3 separate regions of the Homo sapiens genome follow, and regions 2 and 3 are each linked to region 1. Evidence: promoter capture Hi-C in 16 types of primary human blood cells and fetal thymus (Javierre and others, 2016). All regions are on one chromosome and are shown on one strand. The core of a region is centred on a gene start or on the middle of the fragment in contact, and the rest is flanking DNA. Distances in the headings are between cores, read along the strand shown.

What was found. Contacts are between HindIII fragments. The CHiCAGO score rates a contact against its expected background, and 5 or more counts as called.
Region 2: a contact is called between a fragment that was not itself captured here and the fragment with the promoter of FRMD3 in region 1, in 1 of 17 cell types (endothelial precursors). The highest score is 5.4, in endothelial precursors.
Region 3: a fragment that was not itself captured here is called in contact with the fragment with the promoter of FRMD3 in region 1 in 3 of 17 cell types (endothelial precursors, M1 macrophages and M2 macrophages); the score reaches 9.7 in endothelial precursors.

What each region holds. Positions count from the first base shown.
Region 1 is chr9:83,536,523-83,540,139 of GRCh38, forward strand. It overlaps FRMD3 (FERM domain containing 3), which reads right to left and starts at 1,879. Exons shown (of 14, transcript NM_174938.6): 1 at 1,563-1,879. The coding sequence starts at 1,709. RefSeq lists a silencer at 1-126. The HindIII fragment of the contact is 8,384 bases long and covers 1-3,617 here.
Region 2 is chr9:83,182,977-83,186,593 of GRCh38, forward strand. It overlaps a transcript of RASEF not described here. Among named protein-coding and RNA genes, the nearest start is that of FRMD3-AS1, 35 kb to the right of the region's middle. The HindIII fragment of the contact is 956 bases long and covers 1,137-2,092 here.
Region 3 is chr9:83,200,740-83,204,356 of GRCh38, forward strand. It overlaps a transcript of RASEF not described here and the pseudogene RN7SKP242. Among named protein-coding and RNA genes, the nearest start is that of FRMD3-AS1, 17 kb to the right of the region's middle. The HindIII fragment of the contact is 211 bases long and covers 1,475-1,685 here.

The sequences.
Region 1 (3,617 bases), core at 629-3,128:
CTCTGGATCACAAGACTATTAGTACATGCCAGATGCTTCTGTGCAACCCTTGTGGCAGTAGAAACACTGCCTATCCTGCTAATCCTTTTATTATTAAGTTTAGCAGTGCTGCTTAGCTCAGAATGAAATTCAAGCTCCCCCAGAAAATTCAATGGGAGCCTACTTTCCTGGGAGATCATGGGGCATCACATTCCTACCTTGACACTTGTCCGGCTGTCAGGTTACAAATTAATTGCAACTGCCCCCAACATGTCACACACTCCCACTAACAAAAATTAAATAAAAATAAAACAGGGAAAGTCCTTTCATTCCTTCATGGTTTGCACAGCCTAGAGGCTGATTCCTACTCTGGGAGATGCTGCCCCACTCACCTCCCACTGACATGGGTGGTGTGCCCTGTATTACACTAAAAAAAAAAAAAAAAAAAAAAAGCTCAGTCCCAGAGCCTCAAGACTCGACTAGGGTAGGTGAGAAAGGAAATCCCAGAGATAAACAGTTAAATAGATTTAGAAGTCAGAAGTTAATTGTGCTGAGCCCTGACACAACCTTTCCTGATTGTGTGCGCACCGAGTGGGGCATCTTTGGGGTCCTGGAAGAGGGGCTCCCACCTGCCTACATATTCACCCACAGCAAATATGCACACGCACGCGCAACCACATGCACACACACACCTTTGCACCTCACACTAGCTCTCCTGACAGCCCAGAGGCACTTACTACCCGAGGACAGGGCTGCCAGCAAAGCTGCCTTCTCCCAAACAACTCGCCTTCTCCTCCAACTTGGGCGACAGTGAATGTCCACCAAGATTCCACGGGGCTCTTTTACCCAGGACCCAGGTTCCTGCAGGGCTCCCCACTTGCTGGCCTCACAATCCCTTTTCCTTTCTCCGAAACACTCAGACTTCACACATTCCTTTCGAGGTAGCTCCAGTCCGGCGCAGCGCGCGCTCCATCCCTCAAGGCTGGCGCCCAGGGCAGCCCGGCCTCTCTCACTCTGGGGAAACTTCGCCACCGCCCCACGCGGAGAACTAAAGACCACCGGCGGAGGGTGAGGGGGACCGACACGGAGCGGAAAGCAGGTTCCGGGACTGAGGGCGTCTCCGGAGCCTGGGCGCGGGAGACAGAAATGAGTGAACCCAGCTGATGCATGCCTTCTCCACGTGGAAGAAGGGAGGAAATACCAGTGGGCGACATGCAGGTGCCCCTCTCAGCCCTCGGAGCTCCCATCTCCTGGCGGAGTAGGGCCCAGAGGGGCCAGAGTCCCTCCGGAGGCAGCTGCCCCGCGCCCCTAGCCCGGGCGCAGTGAGACGCGCGCGCAGGGTGCACGCGAGGGGAAGGAGACTGGGCGCGGATAACGCGTGCCTGGCGCTTGCAGGGCACCATGCCCCTCCATGCCAGGATAAGGCCCCCCACCCTCAGAGGCCTGAGGAATCGAAATCTGGCTTTCTAGCAGTCCCCCAATCCCCTCCGGGAGTGGGTTCCTTGTTCTCGCATGCCCACCGCAAAGGCCCCCCGCCCTGCTCCCGGCGTGTGCCCCGCGCCCTCGCCCGGTTCCACGCGCACCTGGATGTGGCAGGAGATCTCCGAGTCGTCCAGCAGCCGGATGGTGCATCTCATCTCCTGGCTGAGCGATTTGACGCTGGAGCTCCGAAAGTGGATCATTTTCATGGTCCTCCTGCCTCTCGGCACACAGTGGCAGGAGGCGAACATGCACCGCGGCCGTGGGGAGCGAGCGGGAGGCTCAGGGCCGGCGCGGTGCTCGCCTGCGCGGACACACACGCTCGCACGCACTGTCCGGGACACCTGGGCGCGGCTCAGCCCCGGGACATCGGCAGCGTCGGGCGCCTGCGGACACACATGCCCAGCGGCCGGGGCGCGGCGGGCGGGTCCCTCCCTCTGTTCGCTCGCCTCCGCCTCGCCCCCTCCTTTCCCCGCCTCCTTCTGTCGCGCGCGCTCGTGCGCCTCCCTCTGCCCGGGCTCGCTCGCCGAGGACGCCCAGAGCCTGAGACCCCCGGCGGGCTCGCGACGCACTCACTCCCACGCGCGCCGAGCAGCTGAAGGAGGAGGCGGAGGGATGGCTGGCGCGGCTGGCCCGGGTGCCCTGGTGGTGGCCTGCTCAGTCGCAGCCGCCGCTGCGTCAAGCTGGGCCCGACTGCCTTCCTCAGCCTCACCGCCTCCTCCCTCCCCTGGCCGCTGTCGCTCGGGCTCCCGGTTGTGCTCGTCCCGGCCCCGGCTCCCCAACGCGCTCGACAGCGCCCTGCTCTGCTCAGCTCCAGGGACCTGGCGCGGGTAGGGGACGGAGAGCGATCCTGACCCACACCGCCAGGGGGATTCCGCCTCGGGAAAGGATTGCTGGGCCCAGGGCGAGTGACAGAGAGAGTGACAGCCCTGACACGGCTACACCAGGAATATCGCTAATAGTAAAAATCTCTGGTACTCATGGAGATTGTTTAAGCCATTGTTTTATTTAATGCTAGCTAGGACTCAGTCTCTTTCTCCAAAAAAGAGCCTTCCATGTGCAAATCCTCCTTTAAATCTCCCAACATCTTAGTGTGATCTTTGATAGCATACCTTTGACCCGAGCAAGAGGGATAGGTTCCTATCCTACTCCCCTGCTTTACAGACCTCCTCCAGTTCCCGGTTGCTCAGGAATTAAGAGGTCTAATGGCAAAGCGGATGTGCCCCATCCCGTTTTAGTCCAATCTCTGGGTATTGAGGACTCTGGAATTCCCCACGCGCCTCCAGGGTGTTGAAGGTAGGAGGTATCCTGCCTCTCTGTTGTCCCCAAGGTGGCTAGAGCCACTGTGTCAGGTACCGTAGGCCCGAGAGTGGCCAGGAGCAGCTGTTGAGTCAGGGGTATGGAGCTTGAATGTGAGCACTAGAATGTCCAGGAGCTGGGAGAGATGGAAGTCCTCTCACCCTGTTGCTCTTGCCGGAGCAGAACAGGTCATTAGGAAGGAACATTTGTTAGAAGAGGAGGTGTTGACCAGCTGTCAGCTTTTTCAAGGTTTGTGCCTGCATAGAGTCCCCTCATCCAAAGATATGCCCTGTCCTGGGGGTCGAGGAAGAGTGGCACACAAATTTTACCTGCCCTGGACAGTCTGGTGGGCCATATATTCTCTAGGACACCTAGTGGGGTTGGCTAAGGTTTGGGGGAGTCCGCATTGCATTTGGACTTCTCTCTCTGCCTGCTCCTGCCTCCTCTCCCTGTTGATCACTAATAAATACCACACAGGACAAACTCAGTCTCAGTATCTGCTCCTGGAAATTCCAAATTGCAACAATTTGTCAAGATAGGAGGATAGAGAATGTTTTATGTAGCACTCAATAGCTGACTATTGCTTATGAATATTTAGATGATAGTATGGGGCATTCATGTAGGCTCTTGAGCTGGGCCCTTCAAATGTTAGGGCAGATCCTGATGGAGAGGTCAGTATTGAGGGTATGGGAAGATGTGGATTTCATTCTTGGCCCAGCTACTGGCTAATCCTGGGGATCTTTGAAAAGTCTCTCCATTTCTTTTCTCATTTCAAAGGAGAGAACACCTGTTCATCCCACAGGTGGCTGGGAAGCTGGTATGACACCGGGTCAGTGGAGGACATCTTACAGCTGTAATCT
Region 2 (3,617 bases), core at 365-2,864, 350 kb before region 1:
AGCTGTTACTCCATTTTTATTGCCTAAGACCGGGGTGAAGGGTGGGATAGACTGCAAAGGTAAACAAGGAAACTTGGGACAGTAACAGAAATGTTCTATATTTTAATTGTGACGGCAGTTCCATGAGTGTAGCTATCAAAGCTAATCAAATTATATTCTATATCCAATGGATCCTTTAAACAGATGCATTTTTCTTTTGTTAATTGTACTTCAATAAAGTTTAAAAAGAAAAAAACATAAAAGGAATATAAACTGGATCTCACAGATACACAGATTTGTGTGTGTGTATATATATATATATATATATATACAAATTTGTGTTTTTGTGGAAAACAAAATTCCTACATACTCTGTATATGGCCAAGCAGTTACAATTTTACTAGAAAATAAGCAATATATTTCACATCTTTGAACAATGTAGTATTTTTAGATAAGAGTTCCTTGTAATTTTTCCAATTCTTCCTATAAGAAAGTATATGAACTAGACATGGAGTAAGCAAGGCACTGGAATACTTTTGGTATGAATATACTATAAATGAACATGAGTTTTAGAAAAACGAAATTAATCAGCAGGGTTTTTCTTCCCACTGTTAGATAGCTTGACTTCCATTAAATCATTATTATTATCCAATTTGTTACAGTAGTCCAAAGCATTCATTATCTATGTTTGAATTATAATCATTTTAAAAAGCGGTCAGGGCATTTGTACTACTAAGAAAGTCAGTGAAATGTTAAACTTATGGAGAAAACATTCTCATTTTATTTTTAAAGCAAACTGCTGAGGAAATTAAAACTGTTCGTCTCGTAAGAAATGCAAAATCTCAGCTCTTAAAATGGACTGTTAGCAATTAGAGAACAGAAAGCAGTCCCTCTGGGAGGGCTTTGGTGGCCATTTGCCAATAATTAGCTTTCCTCATATAGCAGCATGTATTAGAATCACCTGGAGGGTTTGTTAAAACTCAGATGGCCAGGCCCCATGCCCAGAGTTTTCCATTCAGGTCTGGGGTGGGGTGTATTTGCACTTCAACAAGTTCCCAGGAAAGCCAATACTGCTGGTCTACGGACCACACTTGGAGAACAGGAGTTGCCACAGAGGAAGAGCAAAGAAGAAACTAGAATTGACAGAGGATGAGTAAAGCTTGGCCACAAGTCAATGGGGGAAGGAATGACGTTCTTGTCAATGCAAGCTATTGGCCAATCACTAAGGTAGGGCTTGGGAGGGACAAGGAAGCATTTTTACTAAGTGGTGGGTAGCATTTGAGCTGTACCTTATGAGACTGGTAAAGATAGGGGAAACGTGTACATTGGTGAAGGAGACACCGGGGGCAAAGGAACAGCCTTGGGAAGTATAGAATGTTGTCAGGGAATAACGGAGGATCTGATCAAAGGGAAAGCAGGGGTAAATGAGATGGGAGGGCGGTGTTAGCTTGTGGGGAATGCCCCTCTCCACGGCTGTGGAGGGCGTGCTGCTCTGTGGAGTGAGAAGTTCCATCTTCTGCATCACACACCCCTACGTGGTTTTATGGGGGCTTTTTCTTTCCATTGCTGGACCATTGCCCATGCTAGTCCTCTAATGAAAAGGACCTTCTCACCATCCTTCACTCTGTCACTCAAACTCAATCTTCACTTCAAAGACAAGTTCAAGCCCTATTTCATCCTGTGTTTCTCTCTAAAGACCAAATTCACTTTGAACTGTCCCACCCCGATCTACACCTTGCTAGGCATTGCCCTTTTCTCTAAGTTACATGTATTTGACATCTCTGCAACCTATCAGAAAATTATCTTAGGATAAGGACCATGTCACCCTGTAATGTCCAGTTTGGTGCCAGCTGCATAATAAGAATTGAAAAAAAAAATTCTTCACTGGTTGATTGGCAGGTTACTAATATATAATCAGCAACTGTTGTTGAGGTTTTATTTATTAGAGTGGCACACAGGCAGTTCCGGAACGTGCAGCATCAGCATCCCCTGGGAATGTGTTAGAAAGGCCCAGACCCAGGCTCTGCCCCAGACCCAGGGAATCCCAAACTGTGGGGTGGGGCCAGAAATCTGTTTTAAAACAAGCCTCTCAGGTGATTCTGGTACGTGGTCAAGCTTACAAACCACTGCTTTCTACAAAGCCTGAATCCCAAAACAAGTTCACACAGCTTATAAGGGTCTGTAGATAGCACAGTGATCATTTTTATCATTATTTTTAATGATAAAAATAATTTAAATAGGAATAAAAAATGCTTCGAAGACAAAGCAAGAATAGGAAAACTTAATAGAGCCAACACTGTGCCTAGTGCAAAATAAATACCTCCAAAATCCTTTATACATGTCAGAGGTGGACCATTAAAGGGCCCCTGTGCTTTCTTTTTCTTTCTTTCTTTCTTTCTTTTTTTTTTTTTAATTTTTTTGTGGAGACCCTACGGTGCTCAGGCTGGTCTCAAACTCCTGGGCTCAAGTGATCCTCCTGCCTTAGCCTTCCAAAGTCCTGGGATTGGACTCTGTGCTCTCTAAAGAAGCACAGTCAATTATCAATTCTGTGCCTTCAGAAGAAAAGTCACTTTGAAGCACGATTTCTGGTAGTGAGACTTCCTGGAGCAACCTCATAGAGAGATGGCTGTGTAACCTGCAGTCTGATGTTCCCAACAACAAAACACACATGAATGTTCCCCAAAACACAATGAGTCTCCCAAGGCTGTTTCTCAATATAAGCTGATGATTGATGCAGGCCAGATGCAATGCCTCTGAGGGGACTCTCTAAGGCAGGGAGATAAGCAGCTCCTGAAGATCTGAACTCAATCCAGGGACATAATCTCAGGTGCCCAGAGGAACAGATGAACTGCAAAGCCTCAACCACTCCTCCATAAGCACACTTTCTCTCAGCTGAACTTCTGACACAAAACTGCAGCAACCCCGAGATTCCACCCAGTTAAATGCTGGGGTGCAGCCACCACGGGAGATTGCCCAGCACAGTCACGTAGCCACATGCATTGAGGAATGGGTGGCGGGGGGGGCAAGGGGGGTGTTAATTCCTGATTTATCCCTGCGTCGTTTTCCCTTTCAACTGAGTTGAGTGTGAAGCTACAGTGATAAGTATAGGGGCTGCCTGAGCAACCATTTGCATAAGAAAGATCTGCTGAAACTAACGGGAGTGGCTGTGTTTCTGTAAAATTTTATTTACAAAAACAAGTAGCTTCTAAATTTGGCTCATGATCTAAGTTTAAGAACCCCTGGTTTGAGGAGTCCTGTAATTTTCCTGCTGCCTAGGGGAAAAGCTTACAACAAACACCCAGGAGTAAGCTATTTAAAAAAGCAAAGTAATCTAAATTAGGAAACTCCTTCACTCATCACCCAGTCCCTTGTTAGAAATGCGTCCCTACATTTCATGTTGCTTCCAGATTGATCTTTCCAAACAGCCACTCCCTGCTCAAAATCCTTTAAATGCTCTCTGTTATTTAAATATTCCCTGTTCTGCGTTATCTAAAATCTGAGCTTCTTAGTATGACATTTAAGGGACTCCCTCCACAGCAAGCCCCCAGCCTCCTCCTGCACGCTGTTCCTGCACTACTTTGCACACACAGCATGCTCACTCCTCCAAGTACTCCTTCTGCCTGCTGCAAACACTGCTG
Region 3 (3,617 bases), core at 330-2,829, 340 kb before region 1:
ATAGCAGGGCCTCAGTGAGCTTGCTACATGAATTAGTTAAGTCATAGCCTATGTTGTGGTTCCCTGAAGTGAGAAAAGAGCTGGGATTTACTCAGATTACCAAGGAAACAATGCTGCATTGAGGCTGCCAGTCTGGACATGACCTCCAGCTGACTTTGCTCCAAAGATGAGTCCAAGCACTCCAGAGCATCTCCCTTCTCTTAAAGGGTCATAGACCCATAGACCAGGATTTTGTACATAAAGACTTTCAATATCTGGAGTGAGTTTGATCAAAGGATCTAACAGAGAAATGCAGCTAATGTAGACTTGTGAAGGCAAGAGGGCTTTCCTCTTCCTAGAAAGGCCATCCACCCCACCCAATGATATAGGTTTGGGAGAATCCTGGAGAAGCTGTGGAAGAAGGACACCTGCCTAGCAAGTCAGACCAGGCTGCTGTACCCTGGCTGTTGATGGCAGAACAGAAGTCACAGCCAGACTGTCCATGTGTCCCTGTCTGGAACACAGTTCTCCTCCACACAGCCCACTGCATTCGGCCTTCAACCAAAAAGGTGCTGGAGAATGACAAGCAAAAGCCCATCCAGGGTTCTTAGCAGTGGGGAAAGCATATTCCTATCATCATGTTTTGCTGAAATAATTTTGAATTATGCCTTGGACGTAGAGGATGCCAGAGTTCGGATATTCTCTTGGAAGAGGCCTTGGTAATGGAGGAGACACTCCCAAATAGTAAGTGGATTCTGGAGGCAACTACTTAACCAATCTAGTGCTATTTCAGAATTTTTAAAAAATATAATTGTAAGAAATGTTTTTGGAGTGAAACATGTATTATCACGTGGACCAATATAGCAGTTGGACTCAATGTAAATATTAATGGGACTTTTTTCTATTTCTCTACTCCTCACTACAAATTAGTTACTTGCCTGGGATCTAATTTTACTTAATATGTAGGTAAGGAATAGTGCTTGGCATGATTTCATGCTTGGAATATGTAAGTAAGGAAAAATGCTCAGCAGGATTTCATGCTTGGTTTGTTGTCTCTTCAGTTCTATTCTCAAGTAGTTTAGCATTTTGTTTTAAATGTTTTAGCTCCTAAGGGCATGAATATATACAATAATATCTCCCTTCCCAGATTATCAGACTCCTAAGTCTGACTCCTTCAAGCACCGAGAAGCCAGATCAGGACACAGATGAAAATGCTAACATAACACTGCATCATGCAGATGATTTGAAAACATGGTGACTGAGAAGTGGCTCATCCCAGATGGCTATGGGGTCAAATACATCTCCAGTTATGGCCCTCTGGACAAGTGGCAGGCCCTGCACTCATGAGGGCTCCCCATGTGCTGCTCCCTCCTAATGCCCACCAATAAATCCTACTTCCTGTCCAAAAAAAAAAGAAAAACCACCCATCATAGCAACATGCACTTTGCTCCTTAAGTTCTCATTCAAAGCCTTATTAACTATTATTTAACACATAAGCTTAAGTATGTTTAATTAATTTCTATATCTATGCAGCTTAAAAGGAAAATTGGCTAAAAGACATGAGTCAAGCAGCTGCAATGACTCAGAGATGTAATAGACAATGATAACAAAAGAGAAAACAGAACTATAAATAATGAATATTCATAATGAAAAACAATTGTCAAGCTAATATTTAACTACAACTAACACACATTGTAATGATAGAAAGCTTTCCAATGCACTTTAAAATGAATTTAACAAGAAATGGCATTAAAAGAAAGCAGTATTTTTTTTTTGAGGTGGAGTCTCACTCCGTTGCCCAGGCTGGAGTGCAATGGCTTGATCTCAGCTCACTGCAGATTCAGCCTCTCAGATTCAAGCAATTCTCCTGCCTCAGCCTTCCCAGTAGCTAGGATTACAGGTGCCCGCCACTATGCTTGGCTTGTTTTTTTGTTTGTTTGTTTGTTTGTTTTAATTTTTAGTAGAGATGGGGTCTTGCCATGTTGGCCAGGCTGGTCTCAAACTCCTCACCTCAGGTGATCCTCCCACCTCGCAAAGTGCTGGGATTACAGGCTTGAGCCACCACACCCAGCCAAGAAATTAGATTTTAAGTGTTCTCACCACAGAAAAGATAAGTATGTGAGGCACTACATATGTTAAATAGCTTGATTTGGCCATTCTACTGGTATACATACATCAAAACGTCATGTTGTACACCATAATATATATAATTTTTACTTGTCAATTAACAATAAGTAAATGGACAGCAGTACTTAAAAGAAAAAGATGTACATATTTAGATTATTCTCTTATATGGACCCAACTGTTAATTGTTAAAGCTAGCAAAATGGAAGTTATTGTATATATGGAATCTATATATATAGATATTATATGCCCCATATATATAATCAATAGACGATCGACAGCAATCCATTAAAAATTAGTGTGGGTTCCTACAAAATTTACATTTATTTTTACATTTATTTATTAAATAAATATTGAGTACTTCTAGCTCTTAGTGAGTTAGACAGACTTGGTCTTGCCCTTGTAGACCCTCCTTATGTTCTATTTCAGTCCTTTTTTTTTTTCTTTTTTTGAGATGGACTCTCATTCTGTCACCCGGGCTGCAGTGCAGTGGCGCCATCTTGGCTCACTGCTACCTACGCCTCCCAGGTTCAAGCAATTCTCCTGCCTCAGCCTCCCAAACAGCTGGGATTACAGGCACTCACCACAATACCTGGCTAATTTTTGTATTTTTAGTAGAGACGGGGTTTCATCATGTTGGCCAGGCTGGTCTCAAACTCTTGATCTCAAGTGATTCATCAATTTCAGCCACCCAAAGTGCTGGGATTACAGGCATGAGCCACCACACCTGGCCTATTCCATTACATTTTAGGTAAGTTCGTTGAAAGTGAAAATAGGATGCCTTGAGAGAAAATAGGTAAGTAGACCAGGTCTGTTCTGAAGGTGGTACGGTGGGGGTCTCTCTTGGGGTCCTAAATTTCAGATCTGAAGAGTGAGTATCACTTAAGTAAGTGAGGAGCTGGCTATGGGTGGGCACTCCAGTCAGGAGGAACAGCAAATGCAAAGGCCCTGGGGTGAGAGGAAGTGCATGGTGCCAGCAGAACTAAGGGAGGTCCTATGGCTGGAGCAAGAGGATGAGAGGCAGGGGTGGAAACACTCAGAACGCAAAACACATGCTGATGTAGATAACCTTTATTCTATGGGCAGTGGCAATTCACTGCAGAGTGCCATTCAAAGATGTTTGAAAAACTCATTTTGATGGCAGTGTGGAGAACAGATCAAAGTGAGAGCCTGAGTGAGCATCTGATTGCTTAAGGGGGACAAGGCAGTGTCACAGTCCTCCAGGGAGAGCAGATGGTAAGAAGGTGAGGATGAAGATGAATAGCTGTATTCAAAAACATTTAGGAGGTAACAGTGGACAGGATTTAGAGATGGACCAAGTATGGATGGTGAGGAAGAGGAAGGAGTAAGAGGCCTTGGTGTTCTGGCCTGGGCAGTTGGGAGCACCACAGGGTTGGCCACTAGATGGAGGACACGACACAGGCACAGGGATACCATGTGGGGTGAGGCAGGGACTGATCAATGTTGTTTCAATTTGCAAAGTTTGGAGTCCTGTGAAACATTCAAATGGGTAT